Linked DNA regions of Homo sapiens: all the other regions are linked to region 1. The links are contacts of gene promoters, found by promoter capture Hi-C in human tissues and cell types (Jung and others, 2019). All regions are on one chromosome and are shown on one strand. The core of a region is centred on a gene start or on the middle of the fragment in contact, and the rest is flanking DNA. Distances in the headings are between cores, read along the strand shown.

Region 1 (4,390 bases), core at 1,240-3,739:
AACCTGTGATTATTTCTTTAAGAACAATTCTTAGAAGAATTACTGTATGTCAAGGCTCCTTACACAAATTTCCAAATTGTCCTTCAGATAGTATGCATATTCCCAGTGTCAATACTTTGAAGTATTATTCTTTTTAATCTTAATATTATGAGAAAATGAGAGTATTATTTTTCTTTGAATGCTAATGAGGGTAAATGTTCTTTCCGTATGTTTCTCGGAATTTTTTTTCTTTTATTAAGTGATGATTCATGTTGTTTGCCTAGATTTCTATTTCAGAATTTATAAAGTTTCCTTTGAAAAATTGTGGTTGAATTTTGTACAGGGCATCCCATATAAAAGGAACCATGAGACAAGTTAGAAGCTGATCATCTCTCACAAAATATTTAATTTATAAAAATTAAATATTAATTGAATACTGTACGTTTCTTTTTCAACTTGCTTTTCCCACTTTATACATATGTATGTGTATGTACATGTAACTTTCTCACAAAGTTCAGGGAAAAAGAAAGTATTAGAGACATGAAGGGAAATAGAGAAATGTAAGAAAATCTGTAACAAATCCAGTAAGTGGGGAGGACACAAAATGCCCCCTTAAGATTAGCCTTTATTCATAGATAATGGAGAGCAATGTGATCCAAATGATGCGATATGTAAGAAGAGTCTTCTGGTGACAGCTTAAGGGTTGCCTTGAAGTAGTCCAGTCTAGATATTTCCAGAAGAGAGAAGTATATCACAAGGAATTTGTTACAAGGGGTATAGAAGCCAAAGGGTAAGAAGATAAAGAAGACCCCAGACATCAGAGCTGCCATAACACCTGTACTGTACGCACAAGCTCACATATAGTGCTGAGCAGCTGGAGACTGCTGGAGTCACTTGGCTCCTACTCCTGCCACTTCTAGAGCCACCAAAACTGCTGGGACCTACAGTCAACTGTAGCCTGAAACTACCACTTCTGGAGGCAGAAATGCATGATTTCTCGGCCTTCTAATCTCCCTCAAGTGTTTCCCATTAGTGGAACTTACCAAGAAAACAGGTGGCAAGGACATCCAGGAAATTTCATATCCAGTCTTCTTACTCCTGCCACACAGAGGAGGGCCCAGAAGGGCAGGAACAGATTTGAATACCAATAGACCAAATCCAGCAAAAAAGGAGGATGTTGTCCAGGATGGTTTCCAACACCAAAATATGGCACTCCCTGGATGAAGGAGGCCTGGATTCTAGAACTAGTTCTGCTACTGGTATGCTGTGTCCCCTCCAAGGCAGTGTTGCACAGTGGTTTAGGATGTAGCTCAGTGCCCTCACTTGCAAAGCAGGCAATAATACCTAGCTCAAAAGATTATTTGTGAGGGTTAAATGGGGTACTGCAAAGTATTTAAAACAGTGCCTGGAACAAAATAAGCATTTAACAATTGATAGCTATTGTCATTGTTACTATCATTCTAATTTCAATTTTGCCATCTGTAGAGAAAAGAAGAGGAGGGTTGAATCACCTTTGCTTCTCTCTAACCCACCAGAGGAAAAGGAACTGACAGACTCAACCTAAGCCTCATGCTAAGCTGAATTTTGGAGATGCAGAGAAAAATGAATAATATCCTCCTGTCCCCGTCATCACAGAGCTCACAGTTCGATGGGAAGACAGAGAAAAATCACTATGATTCAAGGCAAAATGTGCTCAGTGATGTACTAGATACAAGGAAAGTTCTAAATTAGTACAAAAGAAGGTTTTGTAGCATAGTAGAAAGAGTCATACAGACTTCACTTTATTATTTTATTTTATTATTTTGAGATGGAGTTTAGCTCTTGTCGCCCAGGCTGGAGTGCAATGGCGAGATCTCGGTTCACTATAACCTTTTCCTCCCGGGTTCAAGCGATTGTCCTGCCTCAGCCTCCTGAGTAGCTGGGACTACAGGCACGCGCCACCACGCCCGGCTAATTTTTGTATTTTTAGTAGAGATGGGGTTTCACCATGTTGATTAGGCTGGTTTTGAATTCATGACCACAGGTGATCCTCCCGCCTTGGCCTCCCAAAGTGCTGGGACTACAGGCGTGAGCCACCTCGCCCGGCCCAGACGTCACTTTAAATCCAATATTATCCTCTTGTGGTCTTGAGCCGTTCATTTAGTCGCCCGCGCCTCAGTTTACGTGTCTGTAAAAGTGGAGGTACTAAAAGAGCCTGCTCACAAAGTCCTTGTGAAGATTAAGTGAGCTACTGTATATAAAGGTTCTCCTGCAGTATCCGGCACAAAGATGCGCTCAAAAGTGATCATTATTATGATTCCAGTGGCCCACAAAAAAGATACAGGCCTGAACTAACGCAATGGAAATTGAAAGGGGAAAAATTAGCTAAAGAGAGAGTCATTCTTCCCAGACTGCTTAATTATCGTGGATAAAATTAGAGAACCAGGAGGGTACCTACTAGAGGTGCGGGCCACGAGGGGGCGCCCCACGACCTCGGTGTCCTCGTTGCCCGTGGCAACCGGCAATCCTTGGCTCTGGCTTAGGAGGCGCTCAAGTAGAGCGGCAAAATGGCCCTGAGCCCCTGGACCCCAGGGCTGGGCGCTGGCGAGAAGCTGGTGCAGGCGGCTGCCGTCTCCACTGGCCCCTCCCTGGAGTTATGCACCTTACCCTCCACCCTGGGCTCCTCGGTCGCGGTCGAGGCGCTGGAGCAGCTGTTTGTTGTGGGTAAGACGCCCCTCGGGCGCTGGAAGGGACGTCTCCTCAGAGGTGGCGCTTAGGAGGCACTCAGCGGGAACCCTGAGCGGGGACTCTCCTCCCGGAACCAGGGCATCACTGGGCAGGGCAGAGCCTTCTCCCCGCTCCTTGGAGGCTGGGGAGAGAGAGGTGGCGGGTGGGACCAAGTGCCCAGATCTCCTGCCCTAGCGCAGCTGAGGTGACTTCGCTCAACCCTCAGTAGTAGTTAAATTACTGAGGTGACAAATCCGGGACTCCCAAGCCACTGCCCTATGCCTGCGACCTGATTACACACCTGCATTTAGATTATGCCTTCGATTTCAGTTCTCTTCTTGCCGTTCCTTTACAAGTTAACTTCCTCCGACATTTTGCCGTGGCAAACTGGAGAATTTAACAAGCAAATAGGAAAGGGAGTGTTTAAGAGGCTTCTGTTGTGTTGAGCAAGAAAAATTAGATGTAAAGGGTTGTTTAGGAGATTCTAATAGAAAATGACCTTGGATAGGGCCAGGTTAAAGTATTTTTCAGTTAGAAAGCTGAACCTGTAATCAAGTCACTTAAGCTTAAGGTAAGACAATCCAAGAAAGGGTGTTTCTTGTTCGGTGCAAAAACCGTTTAGGCCAAACAACAAAACATTTCAGTGCTTCACTAGAATCATCCCATTTCTTCAAGATAATCGTATTGATTTATGTTACAATGTTACTATTAATTTGGGATAGTTTTTATTTTCCTTCTTAAATGCGCTAGGTTAATTTCACAATTCTTAGCAAATATGCTTGGGTAAATGTTATCATGAAGAATGTTGGCCGGGCGCGGTGGCTCATGTCTGTAATCCCAGCACTTTGGGAGGCCGAGGCGGGTGGATACCTGAGGTCAGGAGTTTGAGACCAGCCTGGCCAACATGGTGAAACCCCGTCTCTACTAAAAATACAAAAATTAGCCGGGCGTGGTGACGCACGTCTGTAATCCCAGCTACTCGGGAGGCTGAGGCAGGAGAATCCGTTGAACTCAGAAGGCAGAGGTTGTGGTGAGCCGAGATGGTGCCACTGCACTCCAGCCTGCGCGACAGAGCGAGACTCCGTCTCAAAAAAAAAAAAAAAAAAAAAAGGAATGTTACCCACTGAGGAGACCTAAAGTTATTAAGACCTAAATTATTCACATGTATCTGAGGTCACTGTCAATGACAGACCTAGAACCTTGAACTCTTTTCATACTTGATCTCTAGATCGGCATGCCAATGCAACCCTAGTACTTATGTACAAATACATTTTTCTGTTAATGTCTAGACACTCAGAACATATTTCATAGGAAAAAAAAATCATTACACCCTCTTGCCCTGAGTTATAAAATATTAATATGTAAATCTCCAGCACATTTGTCCTCAAGGAGCATAAAATATATACCTAAATTATAACATTATGGAATAGGAAATAAGTACAAAAGAGATTAGTGTAATGTACAATAAAAATTCAGAGACTGAAGATGTAACTTCCAGCCGAGTAAGCATTTGAGCTAGATCATAAAAGGTTAAGTAGGATTTGGATAGATAAATAAGAGATCTTTATTTTCTAATTTTTTTTTCAGAACAATCACTGCAAAGTGACTATTTTAAATGTAATGAAGAAGCTAAGATCTTTCTTAAGGACATTGCTGTAGCTGTTAAGAAATTGGTATTGTATTATCTATAAGAACCATTTCTTCA
Region 2 (4,390 bases), core at 484-2,983, 57 kb after region 1:
ATACATGTTTGCTGAATGACTACATGATAATTTATCTATAGTAACTAAACTGCTAAAAGCAATCACATGCTTTTAATTTTCAGTATATTTTATACTTGAAGAATAACATAGAGAAATACAGAGAAGGACAAGAAGCCCTCATGCACACCTCAAGCGACTTGTCTCGGCAACTAATAGCTCAGGAGGGTAAGTAATGTGTGGGTGCTTGTATTAGTCAGGGTTCTTTAGCGGGACAGAACTAATAGGATATATGTATATATGAAAGGGAGCTTATTAAGGAGAACTGACTCACATGATCACAAGGTAAAGTCCCATGATAGGTCTTCTGCAAGTTGAGGAGCAAGGAATCCAGTGGTGGATCCGTCAGAGTCCCAAAGCCTCACAAGTAGGGAAGCCAACAGTGCAGCCTTCAGTCTGTGGCCAAAGGCCCAAGAGCCCCTGCCAAACCACTGGTGTAAATCCAAGAGTCCAAAAGCTGAAGAACTTGGAGTCCAATGTTCGAGGGCAGGAAGCATCTAGCACAGGAGAAAGAGGAATCTTGGAAGACTCAGCCAGTCTAGCCACGCTGGCAGCTGATTAGACGGTTCCCACCCAGATTGAGAGTGGGTTTGCCTCTCCCAATCCACAGACTCAAATGTGAATCTCCTTTGGTTAACACCCTCATAGACATACCCAGGAACAGTACTTTGCATCTTTCAATCCAGTCAAGTTGACAATATTAACCATTACAGTGTTCTTTACATATAAAGTTTTTACTTCATTTAAATCCAGTTTATTGATTTGCATACAAAAAATGCACCCATTTTCAGGTTAGTGAATTTGACAAATGTACATGCTATTGTAACCACTATCACCACAAGCAAGATATAGAGCATTTTCATGACTACAAAATTTTCTCTGTATCCCTTTGCCGTCGATCACCTACCCCATCTCTAGTTCCTGGAAACCATTGATCTGCTTTCTGTCATTAATAATGAGATATAAATGAAATGACAGGGTGCACACTTTTATACCTGGCTTCTTTCACTCAGCAAATTGTTTTAAGATTCATCTAAGTTGTTGCATGTCTCACTAGTTTGCTCCTTTTTATAGCTGTACAGTAGAATCCCATTGTATAGATATACCATATTTTATTTATTCATTCACCAGTCGAAAGACATTTAGATTATTTCCAGTTTGGGATAATTATGAATGAAGCTATTGTGAACATTTGTTTACAAGTGTTTTTATGGCCATGTTTTCATTTCTCTTGGGTAAATACCTATAATGGAATTGCTGAATTATATAGCAATTAGTGTATGATTAACTTTATAGGAAATATATATGGTTAGTGTATGATTAACTTTATAAGAAACCGCCAGACAAATTTGCCAGAGTGGTTGTTAAGTGTCTCATCCCACTAACAATGGAGAAGAGTTCCCATTGCTCTACATCCTCATCAACACTTAAAATGGTGAAAACGCTTTAAATTGTTAATATTTTGGTCATTTTAATAGGTATGTAATGGCATTTCATTGTGATTGTAACTTGTACTTCTCTAATGAGTAATGTTGTTGAGTATACTTTTTCATGTGTTTCTTGGCCATTTGAATATTATCTTTTGTGACAAATATTGCAAACATGGTAGCTGAAGACAAATTATTTACTTTGCTCACAAAATGGCAATTTGATCAGAGCTCGTTGAAGACAACTAAATGTCTGCTCTGCATGGCATCAGCCAGGGCAACTTGAAGGCTGAGGGTAATTCAACAGCCGGGAACTGAAATCATCTGAAGACTCACTCATTCCTGTGTCTGAAGTTGATGCTGGCCCTCAGCTGGATCTCGAGGGAGGCCATTGGCCAGAACACCTCCTCATGGCCTCTCCATGTAGCAGTTTGGCCTGCTGGGTTCCAAAAGCATCCCAAGAGAACGAAGTGGAAGTTCATGGCGTCTTATGACCTAGCTTCAGTCACAGTGTTATTTTCACAATACGCTAATGGTTGAGGCAGTCACTCAGGTGCAAGGGGAGGGGTCATAGCCACCACCTCTCAATGGAAGAAGTGTCAGCATCATGTCAGGGAAAAAAACTTGTGGAATGGAATATACTGTGGGGATATCTTTGGAAAATACAATCTGTCACATGTCTGTCCAAATCTTTTACTCATTGCTTTGTGTTGTTTTCCTATTATCCAGTTAAAATCTTTACGTTTTCTGGAAATGAGTCCTTTTTCTGTCTGAAGCTTGACTTTTCATTTTCTTCATGGTGTCTCAGAAAGAGTAAACATTTTTTCATTTGAACGAAGCCCATCTATCGATTTTGTCTTTTAAGGTAGTACTTTTTGTTTCCTGCCTAAAACATTTGTGCCTACCCCAGGCTCTTCAATATTTTCTTGTATAATTTTTTTAGTTTCAGTGTTTATGTCTAGATTTCTAATTCATTTCAAGTGAACTTTTTTTTTATTACTATACTTTAAGTTTTACGGTACATGTGCACAATGTGCAGGTTAGTTACATATGTATACATGTGCCATGTTAGTGTGCTGAACCCTGTAACTCATCATTTAACATTAGGTATATCTCCAAATGCTATCCCTCCCTCATAACCCACCGACAACAGGCCCTGGTATGTGATGTTCCCCTTCCTGTGTCCAAGTGTTCTCATTGTTCAATTCCCACCTATGAGTGAGAACATGTGGTGTTTGGTTTTTTGTCCTTGCAATAGTTTGCTGAGAATGATGGTTTCCAGCTCCATCCATGTCCCTACAAAGGACATGAACTCATCATTTTTTATGGCTGCATAGTATTCCATGCTGTATATGTGCCCCATATTCTTAATCCAGTCTATTGTTGTTGGACATTTGGGTTGGTTCCAAGTCTTTGCTATTGTGAATAGTGCCACAATAAACATACATGTGCATGTGTCTTTATAGCAGCATGATTTATAATCCTTTGGGTATATACCCAGTAATGGGATGGCTGGGTCAAATGGTATTTCTAGTTCTAGATCCCTGAGGAATCACCACACTGACTTCCACAATGGTTGAACTAGTTTACAGTCCCACCAACAGTGTAAAAGTGTTCCTGTTTCTCCATATCCTCTCCAGCACCTGTTTTTTCCTGACTTTTTAATGATTGCCATTCTAACTGGTGTGAGATGGTATCTCATTGTGGTTTTGATTTGCATTTCTCTGATGTCCAGTGATGATGAGCATTTTTTCATGTGTCTTTTGGCTGTATAAATGTCTTCTTTTGAGAAATGTCTGTTCATATCCTTCGCCCACTTGTTGATGGGCTTGTTTTTTTCTTGTAAATTTGTCTGAGTTCATTGTAGATTCTGGATATTAGCCCTTTGTCAGATGAGTAGATTGCAAAAATTTTCTCCCATTCTGTAGGTTGCCTGTTCACTCTGATGATAGTTTCTTTTGCTGTGCAGAAGCTCTTTAGTTTCATTAGATCCCATTTGTCAATTTTGGCTTTTGTTGCCATTGCTTTTGGTGTTTTAGACATGAAGTCCTTGCCCATGCCTATGTCCTGAATGGTATTGCCTAGGTTTTCTTCTAGGGTTTTTATGGTTTTAGGTCTAAGATTTAAGTCTTTAGTCCATCTTGAATTAATTTTTGTATAAGGTGTAAGGAAGGGATCCAGTTTCAGCTTTCTCCATATGGCTAGCCAGTTTTCCCAGCACTAATTATTAAATAGGGAATCGTTTCCCCATTTCTTGTTTTTGTCAGGTTTGTCAAAGATCAGATGGTTGTAGATATGCGGCATTATTTCTGAGGGCTCTGTTCGGTTCCATTGCTCTATATCTCTGTTTTGGTACCAGTACCATGCTGTCTTGGTTACTGTAGCCTTGTAGTATAGTTTGAAGTCAGGTAGCGTGATGCCTCCAGCTTTGTCCTTTTGGCTTAGGATTGACTTGGCGATGCGGGCTCTTTTTTGGTTCCATATGAACTTTAAAGTAGTTTTTTCCAATTCTGTGAAGAAAGTCATTGGTAGCTTGATGGGGATGGCATTGAATCTATAAATTACCTTGGGCAGTATGGCTGTTTTCACGATATTGATTCTTCCTACCCGTGAGCATGGAATGTTCTTCCATTTGTTTGTATCCTCTTTTATTTCGTTGAGCAGTGGTTTGTAGTTCTCCTTGAAGAGGTCCTTCACATCTCTTGTAAGTTGGATTCCTAGGCATTTTATTCTCTTTGAAGCAATTGTGAATGGGAGTTCACTCACGATTTGGCTCTCTGTTTGTCTGTTATTGGTGTATAAGAATGCTTGTGATTTTTGCACATTGATTTTGTATCCTGAGACTTTGCTGAAGTTGCCTATCAGCTTAAGGAGATTTTGGGCTGAGACAATGGGGTTTTCTAAATATACAATAATGTCATCTGCAAACAGGGACAATTGGATTT
Region 3 (4,390 bases), core at 480-2,979, 55 kb before region 1:
ACCACTTAAGGAAAATTTACATATCTTCTCTACCCATTTTATCGTTTTGATCTTGGCAAGAGCTTTCAATTAATACTGTGTGAGCAGTTGTGCAAAGAAAGCACCCATTTACGATGTTTATGGGAAATAAATTCTTATTATTTCATAATGACAAACACCTAAAGCTTCCATTTATTTGTATTATAATTATGAGAGGTCCAGAGATGATAAATGACTTGCTGAAGGCCATGTAGCTAACTTTTACAATACAGGTGATTCCTAGTTTTCCGTGAATAAGTTCATTTATGTTTCTCTTACCACCTACACATTAAGCTAAAGCCCGCCAATTTTTACTTCACTAGTGTGAATCTGTCTGTGAAATAGCCATCTTACTTCCTCAACCTTCAACTATCAAACTGTTAGAGTGGATTTTTGTGTGCCATCCAACATCTCTCTCCACACTTAGTATGAATGAAAATAATGTGATCTTTCAGCCAAGCTGACATTCCAAGGTCAGCTTTTAGACGGGGTCTCACTATGTCACCCAGGCTGGAGTGCAGTGGTGCGATCACAACTCACTGCAGCCTCGATCTCCCTGGGTTCAAGTGATCTTCCCACTTCAGCCTCCCAAGTAGCTAGGAGTACAGGTGCATGCCACCATGCCCGGAAAAAATTTTTTTTTTGTATTTTTTTTAGAGATGGGGTTTCACCATGTTGCCCAGGCTGGTCTTGAGCTCCTGGCTCAAGTGATCCACTCACCTCGGCCTTCCAAAATGCTAGGATTACAGGAGTGAACCACCGCGCCTGGCCCCAAGGTCAACTTTATGGTCAATGAAAACGCCTGGCCCAGAAAGTCTGACCTAATGTATCCTCCACTTTAAAGAGAGCTTGCTTCTCCCTGTTCCTTATTGGGAACATTGTGTATTCACCATACACACTATACAGACTGTCAGATTGGCAGTACACGCTGTTTCCCGTAATGTGGTGGACACAATACTCATCAGTAAAGGTACCTGCTGGCACCTTCTGGACTTAGGGAATGATAACTGGGGCTATCATTGGACTGGCAGTGCCTCCTAGTGGCCACAGCTCTAAAGATCTCCCTCCAACTGAAAAGCAGCCAGGGCAGCAAAAGCCCACCAGGCAACCCCTGCCTTACCCTCTCCTTTCTTCTCAGTCTTGTCCTCATATCATGCAGTGAGAAGTCGGTGCTGATCAGGCTATCATCATATACCAGTCTTTTCAGTATTTAACTGACAGAATTCCCAAAAATGACGTGGCAATGAAAAAAATTGGGAGGAGGGAGGAAAGGTAGGGAATACAAATAGAAAAAATAATCAAGAATAACCTTAGAGTAGGTCATTGTGAAAAGTGCTTTGTAATAATGTGGTCATTGTTGTTCCTTCCCATCAGCCCTGTGGGAGCTCTGACACCCCATTAAGCTTTATCAAGAATAATTTCAGATATGTTACAAAGATACGCAGAGAGGCCCAGCTGGTTTCTCCACAAGCTTGTATTCTGAAAAGAATACACATGATCCCAAAGATCGTATTTTAAAGTGTATATGCTTCATTAAAATGAAAGATGATAAATCATGTCTACAAGCATAACCTTGAGATTACTGTCCTTAGGCCCATGCTGGTGTGGGGTATGCAAATGTAGATTTTGATCTGGGAAAGAACACCTCTGGCAACTGTAGAAGAATCGGGAAGGCTCCACTTCTCTATGAAAAAGACCCTGTAATGGATAAGGCCATGCCACAAGATGAAGTGGAAAGTTTGTTCCTGCTCCCTCTGAACTCTTCTGTATGCTCCCGTGGTCTCCAGGGCATTCTCTGTCCTCATGCAGTGTCTTGTCTCCTCTAGGGACCCCTTCCAACAGTACCTTCTTTTCCAGACAATGCCCACATTCCAGTCCTTTCTCTTTCCTATTTCTACCTTTTCTTCATCAAAATACATTTATCCCATCCATTCCTTCAGGGTCTTGATGTATGTTCTGATAAAGTAGTTTATGGTAAGATTTAAAAAGCAGGTCACCACCCATTGTTCTGTTCCTTCCTTAGACATTTGCATTTTAACTGTGGACTCCTGACATCCTTAACTACCTGGGCTTGGAAGCCAAAAGTCTTATCTCCCAAATACACACCACCCACCTCCATTGCCCCCCAGTGGTCAATCCCAAAGATGACACTGTTGAGACAGAATGCCCTTTGCTTCCCTGAGTTCTGTTTGAACGTCCCCACAAATGACACCCTTGGATTGTCACTGCATTGACCAATGACTCCACGTACCAGAGTCCAAGGGCTTTGGTCTGGGGTCTACAGGCACCGCATTCTGACATGGATTCCTTCAACCCACAAACAGAGAGGGGTAACCCAAGAAATACACAAGCCCTCTGGGACAGAGCAGTAGGCTTTCTCTCCAGTGATTGTTGCTTGCCAACAAAGGTTTTGGATATCTGTGGAATATTCCAAAAGGAGAGAATCTGGCAATTCTTCAGAAGATTCTGGGCAATTAAAATTCATCGAGTTCAGATTTTTAAGAGTTAGAGGGAGAAGTGAAAGGTAAACGGTGGCAACAATTAGGGAACATTATGCTGCAAGCCTGACATTTATGATGCCGTTGACTTGGTCTTGTCCAGCAGGTTTCTTGGGTTTCTCAGAAATTTCTAGAATATGCACCTCGCATATTCTGGGAGTCAAGAACTCCCAGGAACAGCCCAAGTCCTCCTCCTCTCACCCCCACCGTCAGCCCTTTTTCCCCTCCTCCCAAACCTCCCACCCACTGTCCGCGTCAGCGCCTTCGCGGCCAGAACCGCTTTACCCGTCTCCAGGGTAGCACCCTTGGGCAGCCCAGCCAACGCTGTCGCGTGGAGCGGCGCCCGCATCCCCATGCGCGCAGGCGGCTCCGGGGCCGCGCCGCGCTGATTCGCTGCCGGCCGCGCAGACTGCGGCGCCAGCGACGCTCCCGCCCCTCACCGCGCGCCGCCTGGTGCAGCCTCAGTCTCTCCGCAGCCGCGCGGCCACTGCGAGCCCAGCCGCAGCAGCCGGGCACCAACGCTTGAGTGCACGCTCGGCGCCCCCGAGGAGAGCCACGGCGAGCCCCCAAAGCCCGCACGATGCAGGCCACTGCCGATTCCACCAAGATGGACTGTGTGTGGAGCAACTGGAAAAGTCAGGGTATTCTCTTTATTTCAGTAGTGCATGCCTGAGGCGCACGGGAAACCCGGGACCTGGACTCGTCCATTGTGCATCATTTCACCTGTGGGACCTGTGCATGCTTTATACCCCAGAGCTTTGTGTTGGGGGGTAGTAAACCTCTTATTTCAAGAATCAAAATGGATGGTGCTTGGTTGTTGTTTTTTTCTTTTTTTTTTTAACCCCACCCCCACCCCTTTGTTTTCTTGTTGTAATGCTGGTATTTTAAATAATGCATCAATCGCCTCCTCCGGGAGTTCTTTTGGGATCTGTGCATCATTCAGTACTTGTTTAATGTTTTCTCATCCCCGGAGTTAAAGTGCTTTCTTATTGTTCCATGCATCCCAGTGCATTTATTTCTGCCCAAAGGTTGAAATCTCCTGGCAGAACCATTAACTGAGAGGGCTGGAGTGCATCCTTTTAAGAGGGACACACCCATTTCAGGGTTGTTATTTGTGGTCACACAAAGGAGAGTGGAGATGCAGACTAGCTCTCGAAATCCTGAAAATATGATGGCGTAGCCACATATTAGGATGGTTCACTTTGAAATATTTGGGGTTTTTTTCTGTCATTGGAGTAACCTGTGACTACTATTTATTAATAATAGGTATCTGTGAAATAAATGGAGGGAAAGAACGAAACAGTGCCCGTGGCCCTTGGTATAACAGATTTATTTTGGAATAGTCCATATTAGCACTGGGTGTGGCTACCCTCCAGCCTCGCTTGGATTGCTTTTCAGCCATTTTTATTCAGCCTCACACTTCACACATCCATCTCTCCTTTGTTACATTAAAATTCACCTTGCAGTTACAGAGTATGAGGAGAAAGATAATTTGCAAGAATGAATTGTGTGTAGTAACTTGGGTGTTTGTCGGAGGTAGTGTCTTTTCATATTTAACAAAGATGGTTCTGAAGAAGGCGCGTTTAATTTAACCTGCAGGGTTTTGCAGCATCCCTCAGGAGACCAAGAATACTCTGGAGCAGCAGCTGATTTTGTAAAAACCTGGCATCTTCCCCTTGTAATTCTATATCACAGGAAGGATAGGATGTCCTTTTATCTTTAATGCCTCTGTAGGGTTTTGCTTCGGTATATATTTTAAGAAAAAGTAAACATAAATCTCAGAATTAAAAGCCTGCTTACCTTGCCTCTTGTTTGTTGGATTGGGTGGCAATGACATAAAATACAGTCGTCTACTTCAAATTATGTGAGTGTTG

What was found. The method cuts DNA at HindIII sites, captures the fragments that hold promoters and counts their contacts. A contact is called where the count stands out against the background at its distance.
Region 2: a contact is called between a fragment that was not itself captured here and the fragment with the promoter of CCDC175 in region 1, in 1 of the 25 tissues and cell types used here (H1 embryonic stem cells).
Region 3: a fragment that was not itself captured here is called in contact with the fragment with the promoter of CCDC175 in region 1 in 2 of the 25 tissues and cell types used here (bladder and hippocampus).

What each region holds. Positions count from the first base shown.
Region 1 is chr14:59,574,911-59,579,300 of GRCh38, reverse strand. It overlaps CCDC175 (coiled-coil domain containing 175), which reads left to right and starts at 2,489. Exons shown (of 20, transcript NM_001164399.2): 1 at 2,489-2,682; 2 at 4,273-4,358. The coding sequence starts at 2,526. The HindIII fragment of the contact is 13,786 bases long and covers 1-4,390 here.
Region 2 is chr14:59,517,370-59,521,759 of GRCh38, reverse strand. It overlaps CCDC175 (coiled-coil domain containing 175), which reads left to right. Exons shown (of 20, transcript NM_001164399.2): 17 at 84-186. Among named protein-coding and RNA genes, the nearest start is that of JKAMP, 35 kb to the right of the region's middle. The HindIII fragment of the contact is 3,554 bases long and covers 1-3,510 here.
Region 3 is chr14:59,629,213-59,633,602 of GRCh38, reverse strand. All of the region lies in intron 3 of RTN1 (reticulon 1), which reads left to right. Among named protein-coding and RNA genes, the nearest start is that of MIR5586, 16 kb to the left of the region's middle. The HindIII fragment of the contact is 3,319 bases long and covers 70-3,388 here.